Linked DNA regions of Homo sapiens: region 1 is linked to region 2. The links are contacts of gene promoters, found by promoter capture Hi-C in human tissues and cell types (Jung and others, 2019). All regions are on one chromosome and are shown on one strand. Each heading gives the region's core, a stretch centred on a gene start or on the middle of the fragment in contact. The rest is flanking DNA. Distances are from core to core; before and after follow the strand shown. Region 1 overlaps PEX7 (peroxisomal biogenesis factor 7). Region 2 holds the start of SLC35D3 (solute carrier family 35 member D3).

Evidence for each region. Contacts are between HindIII fragments. The study calls those that stand out against the background at their distance.
Region 1: a fragment that was not itself captured here is called in contact with the fragment with the promoter of SLC35D3 in region 2 in 1 of the 25 tissues and cell types used here (H1 embryonic stem cells).

Annotation. Positions count from the first base shown.
Region 1 is chr6:136,859,147-136,866,488 of GRCh38, forward strand. The region is part of intron 5 of PEX7 (peroxisomal biogenesis factor 7); the gene reads left to right. Among named protein-coding and RNA genes, the nearest start is that of PEX7, 40 kb to the left of the region's middle. The HindIII fragment of the contact is 4,269 bases long and covers 3,959-7,342 here.
Region 2 is chr6:136,920,384-136,926,805 of GRCh38, forward strand. It overlaps SLC35D3 (solute carrier family 35 member D3), which reads left to right and starts at 1,918. Exons shown (of 2, transcript NM_001008783.3): 1 at 1,918-2,484; 2 at 3,502-5,277. The coding sequence starts at 2,046. The coding sequence ends at 4,313. RefSeq lists an enhancer at 940-1,446. The HindIII fragment of the contact is 8,751 bases long and covers 117-6,422 here.

The DNA.
Region 1 (7,342 bases), core at 4,843-7,342, 57 kb before region 2:
GTTGTATAGTTTTGCAAATCTAGCATCAAATTAGTTACCATTAGATAAGCTAAGACAGGCCAAAATGGGGGAAGTTTTTAGAGAACTACCAGTAGATCTAGATTTACCTTCCATAGCAGAGTTGCCTAAAGACATTGCATTTTGCCTAATTCATGATAGTTGTGTTAGTACAGACATCATATTTCTAAATTATATGAGATAGAAGGGAAGAATATTTGAGCTCTTTTTATGAAGAGGATTAATATGAAGTAAATTATCTTTGGAATCATGAAAACTAAATTATTGCTGTCACAGACTCCATCTAGTTGCGTAAGTCATAACCATGCCTGAATGTGTGGGATCCAGTAGTTAAAGCAAACCTCGTTCTACTGTAAGAAAAAGTCATATTACATCTGAGAGGCACAAGGCATTTCGGTTAAGTTATATTGGCCCCAAAGTACCCTTTTGCTACTCAGTTCACTTCCCAGTTTTAGACTCTTATGTTTACACTCATTCTCCTTATGCAACTTCCTCGTACCTGCTGCAATTTGAAATTAGACATAGTAACAGCCAGCACTTCCTTGCCCATATTGTACATTTAAATTCACTGGTTCTGGCCAGGCACAGTGGCTCACATCTGTAATCCCAGCACTTTGGGAGGCCAAGGTGAGCGGATCACTTGAGGTCAGGAGTTTGAGACCAGCCTGACCAACATGGTGAGACCCCATCTCTACTAAAAACTCAAAAAAATTAGCCAGGCATGATGGCGGGTGCCTGTAATCCCAGCTACTGGGAGGCTGAGGCAGGAGAATCGCTTGAACCCTGGAGGCAGAGGTTGCAGTGAGCCACTACACTCCAGCCTGGGTGACAGAGTTAGACTCTGTCTCAGAAAAAAAAAAAAAGAAAAAAAAATTCACTGGTTCTGTCAGTGGCAGGTCTGCAATTGATAAGAGAAGCTGGCAATTCAGGTGAGTCTATGGCACCATCACAGGGCCCTGATAAATGTCTGCCTGTCAATGAAAGGCCAGTTGTCTAGAAAATTCAATTGAAAAAACAATATAAATACAGAAGTCCTGGCAGCTGAAAGAGCTGAATGAGTCATTGTACCATTTGGTCATTAGGTCTCCTTCCTACCTGGAAAACAAAATGGCGAGGATGAAGTGCCAAATGGTTACATCAGGAGTTGCTGTCAAGGAAGTGGAATTCTCAGCTCCTGCCCAGCAGTCTTCACATTTTTGTGCCCATTAAATTAACTGCAAGAGGGGACAGCTCAAGCCATGGCTCTTTTTTTTTTTTTTTTTTTTTAAATATTGCATGAAAGTGGTGGTGTGAATTGAACAATGAGAACACATGGACACAGGAAGGGGAACATCACACACCGGGGCCTGTTGTGGGGTGGGGGAAGGCGGGAGGGATAGCATTAGGAGATATACCTAATGTTAAATGACGAGTTAATGGGTGCAGCACACCAACATGGCACATGTATACATATGTAACAAACCTGCATGTTGTGCACATGTACCCTAAAACTTAAAGTATAATTAAAAAAAAAAAGAAAGAAAGTGGTGGTGTGGAACAAAACCTCCCAACCTTTGTTATTGTGTTTTTTAATCTTTTATTGAAGTATAATACACATATTGAACAGTGCATAATCTTAGTATACAATTTGGTGAATTCTCACAATGAACACATCCTTGTAACTGGCACCCAGGTGAAGAAACAGAATGTTCCCAGAGGGCCTCCTCCCATCCTTATAGTCGCTTCTCACCACGTCCCACCCCAGGTGACCACTGTGTGGCCTTCCAATAACATGGATTAATGTTGCCCATTTTCATACCTTTGTTACTGGTTTTTTTCATGCAACATTATGTCTTGTGAGACTCATCCATGTTATTCCTACAATAACAGTTCTTAATCTCCTAGTCTGCATTCATTGTAATGTTTTGGTACTTTTAAATTTTTTTATTTTTATTTTTTGAGACAGAGTCTGGCTCTATCACCCAGGCTGGAGTGCAGCGGCACAGTCTTGGCTCATTGTAGCCTCTGCCTCCTAGGCTCAAGCAGTCCTCCCACCTCAGCCTCCTGAGTAGCTGGGACTACAGGTGCATGCTACCAAGCCCGACTAATTTTTGTATTTTCTGTAGAGACAGGATTTCACGGTTGCCCAGGCTGGTCTGGAACTCTTAAACTCAAACGACCTGCCTGCCTTGACCTTCCAAAGTGCTAGGATTACAAGTGTGAGCCACCATGCCTGACCTGTTTTGGTACTTTAAGTCAGTTCACATACTCATATCTTATTAGGGTGAACCCAAGCTCATTGATCTTGAGACAATGCTATAGCTATAGCAGAATTTATACTTTTAACCTAGTATTAGATATAAATTCCTGAAAGTTAGTATATATTATTTAGGCATTTTGTATGTTTTAATGGAAACCTCGAGCTTAATTAAATGGTTTTTTTTTAGCTAGTTTCAGGAGACTGACGCTTTAGGAGAATACCCTTCGCTCCCTTATGATAAAGAGTGATTTCCTTTGCCTGCAAGTGATAGAACTGGGACTATGTTAGATCTTTGTGAAATTTGTTAAAAAGCATACTCCAGAAAGGGAAGGGCTGTTTGAAAGGCCCCAGGACACATTCTGTTTCTCATCTGGACTTTTCTCTACTTGTTGACTTGGCTCTGCAGACTGGCTTTCTCCACACAGTGAGACACATGGCCACTAGTGGCTCCTGAATTTATATATATATAAATATATATAAATTCACTATGTTTATATATATATTCAGTGTATAATGCAGCGTGACATCCACGTCACCCTGCATTATACACTGAAGGCTGGAGAAGGTCATGAGAGATCATTTCATCAAAGCTATATATATATATTTTTTCTGTATTTATATATATATATTTTATATATATTATATATATATATATTATATATATATAGTTTTTTTTTTGGGGGGACAGAAACTTGCTCCATTGCCCAGGCTGGAGTTAAGGGGCGTGATCTCAGCTCACTGCAACCTCCACCCCTGGGGTTCAAGTAATTCTTATGCCCCAGCGTCTTGAGTAGCTGGGATTACAGGCGTGTGCCACCATGCCTGGCTAATTTATTTATTTATTTTGTATTTTTAGTAGAGACAGGGTTTTGCCATGTTGGCCAGGCTGGTCTCAAACGCCTGGCCTCAAGTGATCCACCTGCCTTAGCCTCCCAAAGTGCTAGGATGACAGGCATGAGCCACTGTGCCTGGCCATATTTTTACGTTTTTGAGACAGGGTCTTGTTCTGTCACCCAGGGTGGAGTACAGTGGTGCGATCATGGCTCACTGCAGCCTTGACCTCCCGGACTCAAGCAGTTCTCCTACCTCAACCTCCAGAGTAGCTGGGACTACAGGTGTGTGCCACCATGCCTGGCTAATTTTTAAATTTTTTGTAGAGCTGGAATCTCACTATGTTGCTCAGGCTGATCTCGAACTCCTGGGCTCAAGTGATCCTCCTGCCTTAGCCCCTTAAAGTGCTGGGATTACAGGTGTAAACCATCATGCCCAGCCTCCTGAATTTTATAAGTTGTAAATGCTACCATAAGAGGACAGACATTATTTTTTCAGTTATAGTTCAGAAAAATCCCAAGTACCTGCCTTTGACCTTTCAGCTGTAGTCAAAGCAGGGAATGAGGTACTGTGGTTGGTCTTGCCTGGACCTGCCTTTGGTCAGTCAATTGTGTTGAGGTGTAAGTCTTTATAGAATCACTTGGTGAGAAAAGGACATGCTGTTCCTAGAAAAAGGGTATTTCTGGGCAGGCCAAACACTGGACATCCACGTCACCCTGCATTATACACTGAAGGCTGGAGAAAGTCATGAGAGATCATTTCATCAAAGCTATTTGGAATTCTAGAAGCAGATTCTACTGACTGGTGGCTAGACCACAGACAGTGATTATAATGAGGGCCGTTGGAGTTATTTGAAGCTCTAACCTGTACCAATTCTGAACAATTTCCTTTTGGTACTTTCAAACTTATCATTCATTTTTCACAATGAGATATGTTGTCACTAGTGGGTCCTGAATTTTATAACTTGTCAGTTCTGCCATAGAAGAGGGACTGACATTATTTTTCAGTTGTAGTAAGAAAAATCCCAAGTACCCCCATTTGGCCTGTCAGCTGTGGTCTGAGCAAGGAATGAGGTGCTATGGACGGAGGTACCATCCTTAGCTAGGTCCAAAAATGTTTGTTACTCTCATCTATCAAAGTGGTTTTCAACCTTTTTTTAATGTAGCAGGACAGTATTTTTAAATCAAAAAAGGAAAAAAAATCCTACATACAAAGCAGTAGTAGTACGTATTTATGGATCCATAAAAATATAATAAAAGTATTACCAAAATGCAAACTAAAGGGCTGTGGACCAAATTCATGACTGTTGTGGCCTCTGGGCAGGGAGGATGGGAAGTGGTATTGAAAATATAATAGAAATTTTTCTCCGATTTATAGAAAAAGTAATACAGGGCTGGATGCAGTGGCTCACACCTGTAATCCCCTCACTTTGGGAGGCTGAGGCAGGTGGATTGCTTGAGCTCGGGAGCTGGAAACCAGCCTGGACAACATGGCAAAACCCCGTCTCTGCCAAAAATAGAAAAATTAGCAGGGGCATGGTGGTGTGCGCTTGTAGTCGCAGCTACTTGGGAGGCTGAGATGGGAGGATTGCTTGAGTCTGGGAGGTGGAGGTTGCAGTGAGCTGAGATCGCATCACTGCACTCCAGCCTGGAAATTAAAAGAATTAAAATAATTCCTCCAGAATTAGCCAACATTGATTGTATGGCATTTGTCGTCCAGCAACACAAGGAGGCAGCAGCGCAGTGTAGTTGTAAAGCTGTAAAGTGTGCATGCTGGGGACCCAGACTCCTTGGGTTCTGGTTCCAGGTCCTGGTTCTGTTGCTTACTATCCTGGGTGAGTTATTTCATCTTTATATGCTGCATTTGTATAGTACTATATTCCTCATTTGTATAGTACTATACAATTACTTTTATATCTCCAAATTCCTACTTTATGTAGTTGTGATGTTTTTAGAAAAAATATGTATAAAATGCTTAGAACAGTATGTGGCACATTGGAAGCACTCAAATATTAACTATTATTCATGTTGTTATTATTGGGGGGACATAAATAACTTCTAATCATGGGTATTTTTTCTCATAAAAAAAAAACACACATATTGAGAGCTTACTGCATATCTTTTGCGTATCTGGCACCGTACTCATGCTACTACCTTGTCTCATTTCAGCCTTACAAGGCAGTTATTTTATTGTAGGTAGGAAACTGAAGATCAGCGAAATAACTTGATTAAGCATCAGTGGCCACCAAATGATTGAGCTGGATTAGAACCAAGCTCAGGAACTCCAAAGGCCCTGTTCTTAACCTCTGCATTTCATTACTGCCAACACATTTCTTATCTTTCTTAAGCAACTTCCGAAGAAGCCAGGAAAAAATTGCCTAGGATAGCTAAATTTAGCTTAACAATATATGATTTAGAATTGGGAATATAGGAAAATATATGTAGATAAGTGAAAGATACTTTAAAAATTTAGCATTTTTATATACCGTATTTGGCAGTTTCTAGTATGTGTTAGAGACCATGCTAGGTGCTTTACAGAAACGTGATGAAATTCTTAGACAGCGCTGCATGTTGGGCATTCTGTGTCTCCTTTAGAATGAATCAGTCTCAGAGATATTACGTATCCTATGCAGGGTATGTATCCTATAACCACAAAATGGCATTCAAGTCCCCACCTGCTATCATGCCAGAAACTACATGCTTTTCATTACATGGAACTGGTTTTCTCACATCATCAGTTGTTTATATTTTACTTTTGAGGTAGGTATATATATTCTGGATTTTATTCATCTTGTCATCTTTTGTTTCCTCATAGTTTAGAAAAACTGGAGGCAAACAACATGTAAAACATTTAATTGGGTGTCTGTGCAATTAAGTAATGCAAACTGTTTTTGTAATAATGCAAAGTGTAATCTTTAAATGTTTTTAGCTTGTTGGCCAGGCATGGTGGCTCATACCTGTAATCCCAGTACTTTGGGAGGCTGAGGTGGGAAGATTGCCTGAGGTCAGAAATTCGAGACTAGCCTGGCCAACATGGTGAAACCCCATCTCTCTCACTCTTTATTTATTTATTTATTTTTTTGAGATAGAATTTCACTCTTGTTGTCTGGGTTGGAGTGCAGTGGCACAATCTCGGCTCACTGCAACCTCTGCCTCCCAGGTTCAAGTGATTCTTCTGCCTTAGCTTCCCCAGTAGCTGGGATTACAGGCACCCGCCACCACCACGCCCAACTAATTTTTTGTTTAGTAGAGATAGGGTTTCATCATGTTGGCCAGGCTGGTCTCAGACTCCTGACCACAGGTGATCTGCCCACCTTGGCCTCCCGAAGGGTAGGGATTACAGGCGTGAGCCACCACGCCTGGCTAAAACTCCATCTCTACTAAAAATACAAAAATTAGCTGGGCGTGGTAGCACACATCTGTAATCCCAGCTACTTGGGGGGCTGAAGCATGAGAATTGCTTGAACCCAGGAGGTGGAAGTTGCAATGAGCTGAGACCGTGCCTCCGCACTCCAGCCTGGGCAATAGAGCAAGACTCTGTCTCAAAAAAATATCAAAATAAATAAATAGGCCGGGCGCTGCGGCTCATGCCTGTAATCCCAACACTTTGGGAGGCTGAGGCGGGTGGATCACGAGGTCAGGCAATCGAGATCATCCTGGCCAACATGGCGAAACCCCGTCTCTACTAAAAATACAAAAATTAGCTGGGCGTGGTGGTGTGCACCTGTAGTCCTGGCTACTCGGGAGGCTGAGGCAGGAGAATCACCTGAACCTGGGAGGCGGAGATTACAGTGAGCCGATATCGTGCCACTGCACTCCAGCCTGGCGACAGAGTGAGACTCTGTCTCGAAATAAATAAATAAATACATAAAAATAAATAAATAAAATTTTTTAGCTTTTTTTTTTGAGGAGAAAAATACACTTATAGCTGGCCCGTTAAAATATAGTATACTTGACAATGAAAAGTAAAAAATTCTCCATTTTGGCTTGGTAGACTTTGCCCGCCTTTAGCAGTAAAATTGTTACTCTATTGTTGGTTTCTAGTACAATACACTGGTACAGAGTGATCACTTTATTTCCTAACACGAGAATTTTCAGGGCCTTTCCTGCCTCGAACACACACCAGCTGTGTGTTTAGTCAATACTGTGTTTATCTCAGCGTGAGATTCAAATTTTCCTCCTAATAGCATTATCACGGTGCAACGTCACTTTTTGTATTCCTTCATTTGAATAGTTCCTATACATTATTATGGTT
Region 2 (6,422 bases), core at 668-3,167:
CAGAGAACCGGAAGCACGTGTTTCAGTATAATGCTTTCCAGCTATTCCTGGAAAGTTGGCACCCTGGGCCATTCACAAACTTTTTTTGAGTGCCCACCTGTCGGGAGCAGGGACGTGGCCCTCCTAGGCACCGGGCACATAAGCTGGTGGACTGGTTGACCCCGAGCTCTCTAGAGCTCACCAAAGTGAGCATCCAGAGCCCCAAATGCTGGCCCAAATGAAGGGCTGCTGTGATGCTGCTGATCCCTGCTGTAATTTTTTTTTCTTCCTCTGTTGCGGTAAATCACGACTTCAGCACTTTGGCTGAAGTGTCGCGTTCAGCACAGAGGTGGAAGTAAGAGGCAGAAAACAGAAGAACCACGAGAGAAATGGATCCTGTCTATTAAGGCAACGTGATGCAGCGCTAAAAGGTTAGGAGGTTACGATTCCCGGGGCTAAGAGAAATAAACTGCTGGTGGTGAACGAAAGGGGTGCTGGAGCGCAGCGATCTCGAACCTTTCCCTTATAGCCAAACCCTGGCCAAGGCCACAAATTTCAAATCGCCTGAAAACCAAACTGTCTGGCGCTTAACGGTTACCTCGGCTGAGCGAAACCCTTGGCTGCTGCTGATTTAACTACAGGTCCGCGCGAGTTACTTTCCAGGGAACTGAATTCAGAACAAAGAGTTACCGAAGCCTTACTCCCTCTCCAAAATTAGAATTCCCTTTTTCTCTTAGTCATATAGGAAACACACAGTTCACAAGTCCTGTGGTGCAAAGGTGTGAACCCTGGCCCAGGGAGGTGGTGACTCTCCCCGCCCTCCGCCTGCCGGTTGTCCTGCTTCCGAAAGCAACCCACGACGGTCCCGCAGGGTGAGGGTTCCCTGGGATCAGTTCCCTGGGATCCGGAGAACGCCACGCGGAGTCTCCCTGCAGGGTGAGGGGCCCCGGGTTCCCGCCCCCTCCCCCTCTACTCTCCCATTCTGCGAGCGCAGCCAGCCTCCCCTCCCACGCTTCGGGAAGCGTCGCCCCCGAGCTCCTCGGTTCCTGGTGGTGGCTACTCGTGTTAGTGACTTCGTTTCTGCGCGTTTGCTTATTTTCATCTTTGCCTCAGTTCGAATGTGTCCCCGCCACCAGGCCCCGCTGCTGGGCGAGACCACTGAACCCCCTGAAAGCTTCCCCGGAGCCGCGCGCATAATCCCGGGACCCTCTCTGGAAGGCGTGCGGAGAGCGGTGCGCGTGGCCTGGCACCGGAAGGAGCCAGCTTCCGGGCTCCGAGGCACCCCCTGGACAGCGCCCCGGGCCGCGGGTTCCTCCTCCGATGCCCGGGCGTCGTCGCCGGGATCGGGAGCTTCGGGGGCCCGCCGGCACCGACGGTTTTCGCTTCCCTGGCGGGCAGCTGGACGAGGTCCCGCCGCTGCACCGGGAGGGACAGTGGGTGGAAAAAGCCGCTGCAGCGCCGGGGCGAGGGGGCTGGGGGCGCCGTCACTTGTTGCGACCAATAAACGGCGCTCGATCCTGATGCGCTGTTTCTAAAATCTTTAGCTGTGTCCCGATCCCTCCAACCCAAGCCCCTCGGCCAGGAGGAAGGGGCAAGCGAGAGCCGCTGGCTCTGTGGGGGGAGAGGGGCGCCGCGCCCCAAGAGCCCCCGTCCCGCCCTGCGGCAGCCGCCCCGGGGCGCCCAGCCGCCCGCTTCCCTCCGCAGAGCGTCTTCCCTGACGGTGAAACCGCGCGGGACACAACCCACCGCGGCTCATCACCCACTTACAAATAGCTGTCGCTAGGATTCCCGCCACTCCTCTCAGACCGGCCCCCCCGCCACCTCTGCCACTTTTCGGAGTCCCCCGCCCTCGTCACTGCCTCCCCGGAGCTGCGGGGCAGTCGGACGCAGAGCTGCCTAACCGCAAGAACGCCTGGCCGGAGCTGCCCTCTGCAGCCGAGCCGGCGCCCCCTGCCCTTCGCCGCCGCGCTGGGCGGGCGCCCCCGCCGCCCTCACTCCGCTGCTCCCGGCTCCTCGCGCGCAGGTCGCGGAGCTCCGCCACCGCTGGGTGCGGCGAGGCCGGCGCGATGCGGCAGCTGTGCCGGGGCCGCGTGCTGGGCATCTCGGTGGCCATCGCGCACGGGGTCTTCTCGGGCTCCCTCAACATCTTGCTCAAGTTCCTCATCAGCCGCTACCAGTTCTCCTTCCTGACCCTGGTGCAGTGCCTGACCAGCTCCACCGCGGCGCTGAGCCTGGAGCTGCTGCGGCGCCTCGGGCTCATCGCCGTGCCCCCCTTCGGTCTGAGCCTGGCGCGCTCCTTCGCGGGGGTCGCGGTGCTCTCCACGCTGCAGTCCAGCCTCACGCTCTGGTCCCTGCGCGGCCTCAGCCTGCCCATGTACGTGGTCTTCAAGCGCTGCCTGCCCCTGGTCACCATGCTCATCGGCGTCCTGGTGCTCAAGAACGGCGCGCCCTCGCCAGGGGTGCTGGCGGCGGTGCTCATCACCACCTGCGGCGCCGCCCTGGCAGGTGAGCGGGCCCCCGCGCCGACCCCCAGCCGACCCCACCCACCCCGCTCCGTCGGGCAGAGACCGCGGGGATCACTGAGTTCAACGACCTCACTTCCAGATGGGGAGACTGAGGCAGAGAGAGCCGGAGAGCTTTGAGAGTGGTCGCTCAGCTCGCAAAAGGGACTTCCGAGACCCAGAGAGCTCCCCAGCGCCCCACCAAGTCCCCCTGCCCCCTAATGTCCTGGCTTCCGACCCTCGCCCATGCTTCACCCGGCATCGCCCTTCCTGTCGCCCCCTCTCCTGGTCTTCCCCTGTCACCCCATTCTCCGGGAGAGGTGGGAGGGCCGCCTGAGCCTGGGAGCTGGAGTCCTCCAAGCCTGGACCAAGCCGGAAGGAGGGGGCCGTGAACTTCCTTGGGTCACGAGGGGCTGGAATGGAGGTGGGGGATGGGGGCGAAGCTGAGGGTTCCCGGGGCTACTGCGGGGTGTCTCGTGCTGCGCAGGGGGCTGCGGCCCTGGGGCAGACGACCCAGGTGCTGAGCGAGACGAGAGCCTGGGCAGGGGGAAGCTTCACTGGGGGCCAGAACAGGCGTTCTCCCCCGCGCCTGGCCCGCTCCGGGTTGCAGGCCACTGGCTGGGGCTCCCTCTCCCTTTGGTGCCCCACGGGGCAGGGGCTCCGGGGTGCAGGTACCACGCGCCCAAGTGACCTCGGTGCCAGCTCGGGGAAGCCACAGCACCTGCCCCGAGGGCATCTGCGCTCTCCGGGGCCTTTGTCTTGGACAGAGGAAGATGGAGTGACCCGGGGATATGGCGGGAAGGCGCTCTGAGCACTGAGTTTGGCTGTCGCATTTGACACGGGTGGCCGAGGGACGGCGGGCGTCTGTCACTCAGGAATCCGGTGGGCAGAGCTGGGGCGCGAACCCAGTCTCCTTTCCTACCCGACGCGTTTTCCCCGTGGGTCCCCGCCCACGCCAACCTGCTGTCTTCTCTCTTTTTCCTTCCCGCCCGGGCTCGGCCGTCCTCCTCGTGCGCCGCAGGAGCCGGCGACCTGACGGGCGACCCCATCGGGTACGTCACGGGAGTGCTGGCGGTGCTGGTGCACGCTGCCTACCTGGTGCTCATCCAGAAGGCCAGCGCAGACACCGAGCACGGGCCGCTCACCGCGCAGTACGTCATCGCCGTCTCTGCCACCCCGCTGCTGGTCATCTGCTCCTTCGCCAGCACCGACTCCATCCACGCCTGGACCTTCCCGGGCTGGAAGGACCCGGCCATGGTCTGCATCTTCGTGGCCTGCATCCTGATCGGCTGCGCCATGAACTTCACCACGCTGCACTGCACCTACATCAATTCGGCCGTGACCACCAGCTTCGTGGGTGTGGTGAAGAGCATCGCCACCATCACGGTGGGCATGGTGGCCTTCAGCGACGTGGAGCCCACCTCTCTGTTCATTGCCGGCGTGGTGGTGAACACCCTGGGCTCTATCATTTACTGTGTGGCCAAGTTCATGGAGACCAGAAAGCAAAGCAACTACGAGGACCTGGAGGCCCAGCCTCGGGGAGAGGAGGCGCAGCTAAGTGGAGACCAGCTGCCGTTCGTGATGGAGGAGCTGCCCGGGGAGGGAGGAAATGGCCGGTCAGAAGGTGGGGAGGCAGCAGGTGGCCCCGCTCAGGAGAGCAGGCAAGAGGTCAGGGGCAGCCCCCGAGGAGTCCCGCTGGTGGCTGGGAGCTCTGAAGAAGGGAGCAGGAGGTCGTTAAAAGATGCTTACCTCGAGGTATGGAGGTTGGTTAGGGGAACCAGGTATATGAAGAAGGATTATTTGATAGAAAACGAGGAGTTACCCAGTCCTTGAGAAGGAGGTGCATGTACGTACCTATGTGCATACACTTATTTTATATGTTAGAAATGACGTGTTTTAATGAGAGGCCTCCCCGTTTTATTCTTTGAGGAGTGGGGAAGGGAAGAAAAGAAAGAAGCTGAAAGGTACTGACACAGAGCAACAAAATTAGCACCTGTGTGAATTATTTAGTGTGACTTCACCTGAGGCATCACAGAGACAAAAGAATGTGAAGCTACTTAACAAAGTAAGGCAACGTTTCTGCTTCAGACTCCTGGCACATTTACTTTTTGTCATTATAACCATAACTAAATATCTGCATGTACCAAGAGTCCCTAAGCCACCCCCTCCAAAGATGGAGTGTAGAAATGATGACAGCACTTAGTAAGTTCAAAGATGACATTCAGGGATGCATTTTTTGATGATAGAACTACAGTTTTTATCGCCAGCTGGGCAAAGAGTATATTGCTGAAATGATATATAAATATATTGAATTGATGTTTACTGTTTATAGTCATCTGAAATATCATATTTACTCTGATTCTACTCACTTGTTTTTTAAAAATAAGTGTCCTATTATTGTATTATATATTGATAGAAACTGTTAAAGCTATTTTGAAAATATGAGTTCTTAGCTTTAATCATGAAGTCTGAAGTTTGCTTTCAGTAATTATTTTAAAAGTTGTTTTGGTTCATTGCTTTATAATATTTATTATTGAATGCCAAACCTGTTCTTTTTTTTACTGTGTCCAATATTCTTTCAAGCAAATGCAATGGCTGGAATATAATTCAGAATTAACTGAAACCCAGCCAGAAGAGGGACCACCTGTAAAGCAAGTCCTTTCAAGTTTCACTGCACATCCCAAACCATGTTACAAAAAGAGCAACTGCTATATTCACATTATGATATTTTTCTATCTTAAATTTGTCAAAATAAAGTATGAGTCTAACTATTAAAGGATACATTGTTAGAAATTTATTTTAGACACATGTTCTATTGTTGCTGTATAGTTGTTTGTGTTTGCCTCCAATGTGTGGTCATAGTATCCGAGTGTAGGGGCCGCACCATTGGAAACTTCCTAAATTAACAAAGCTGTTTGGTTTGAAATAACAACAAAAACAGAAATGCATCTTCCAGTGAAGGAAGCTGTTAATGGTGTGGTGCAATGGCTCATGCCTGTAACCCAGCACTTTGGGAGGCCAAGGCAAGCAAATGACTTGAGCTCAGGAGTTCAAGCAAGCCTGAGCAACGTAGCAAAACCCCATCTCTGCAAAAAATACCAAAAATTAGCCAAGAATTTTGGTGTGCACCTGTAGTCCCAGCTACTCAGGAGGCTGTGGTAGGATGATCACCTGAGCCGGGGAAGTCAAGGCTGCAGTGAGTTCTGATTGTGTCACTACACTACAGCCTGGGCAACAGAGCGAGACCCCGTCTCAAAAACAAACAAACAGGGCATGGTGGCACGCGCCTGTAGTCCCAGCTACTCGGGAGGCTGAGGCAGGAGAATCACTTGAACCTGGGAGGTGGAGGTTGCAGTGAGCCGAGATCGCGCCATTGCTCTACAGCCTGGTAACAGGACAAACAAATAAACAGAAAATGATAAAACACTCCATCGCACTGAGGTACGAAAGCCATCCACACCAGATTTCAGTTAACATGGAGTCTGAGAAGTAATAAATGGTCATGTCCACCAAGGAGGAAGCCTTCTGTGAGCTCTAGGCAGGAGAGATACTTTGAGAGTGAGGGGGCACTGAGATCTGCCAGCATGTTGCTGAGATTCTCAGATAGTAGCATCTTATATTTTTCTTTCTTTTCTAAAAATCAAATCAAAGCAAAAAGCAGAAGCAAAAATGAAGTTTCAGCTCCATCAGTTTGGCTCCACAAGCAGCTGAGCAAGTGTAATTGTGGTTTGTGATTGGCCCTGGTTTGCTGGTTTCCACAGGCAATTGACTATTTCCAGAGGTGCCTCCACAAGCCATTTAAGATGCAGGAGACCTCACATACTGCAGTTAGAAATGGTTTGCCAGGGTTATGATGACTTCTTCAAAAATAAGTGTTAATTTTAATGCTAACATGCCAAAGGGCAACATCGCGTTGCAACTATATAAAGCTGAGAATTAATG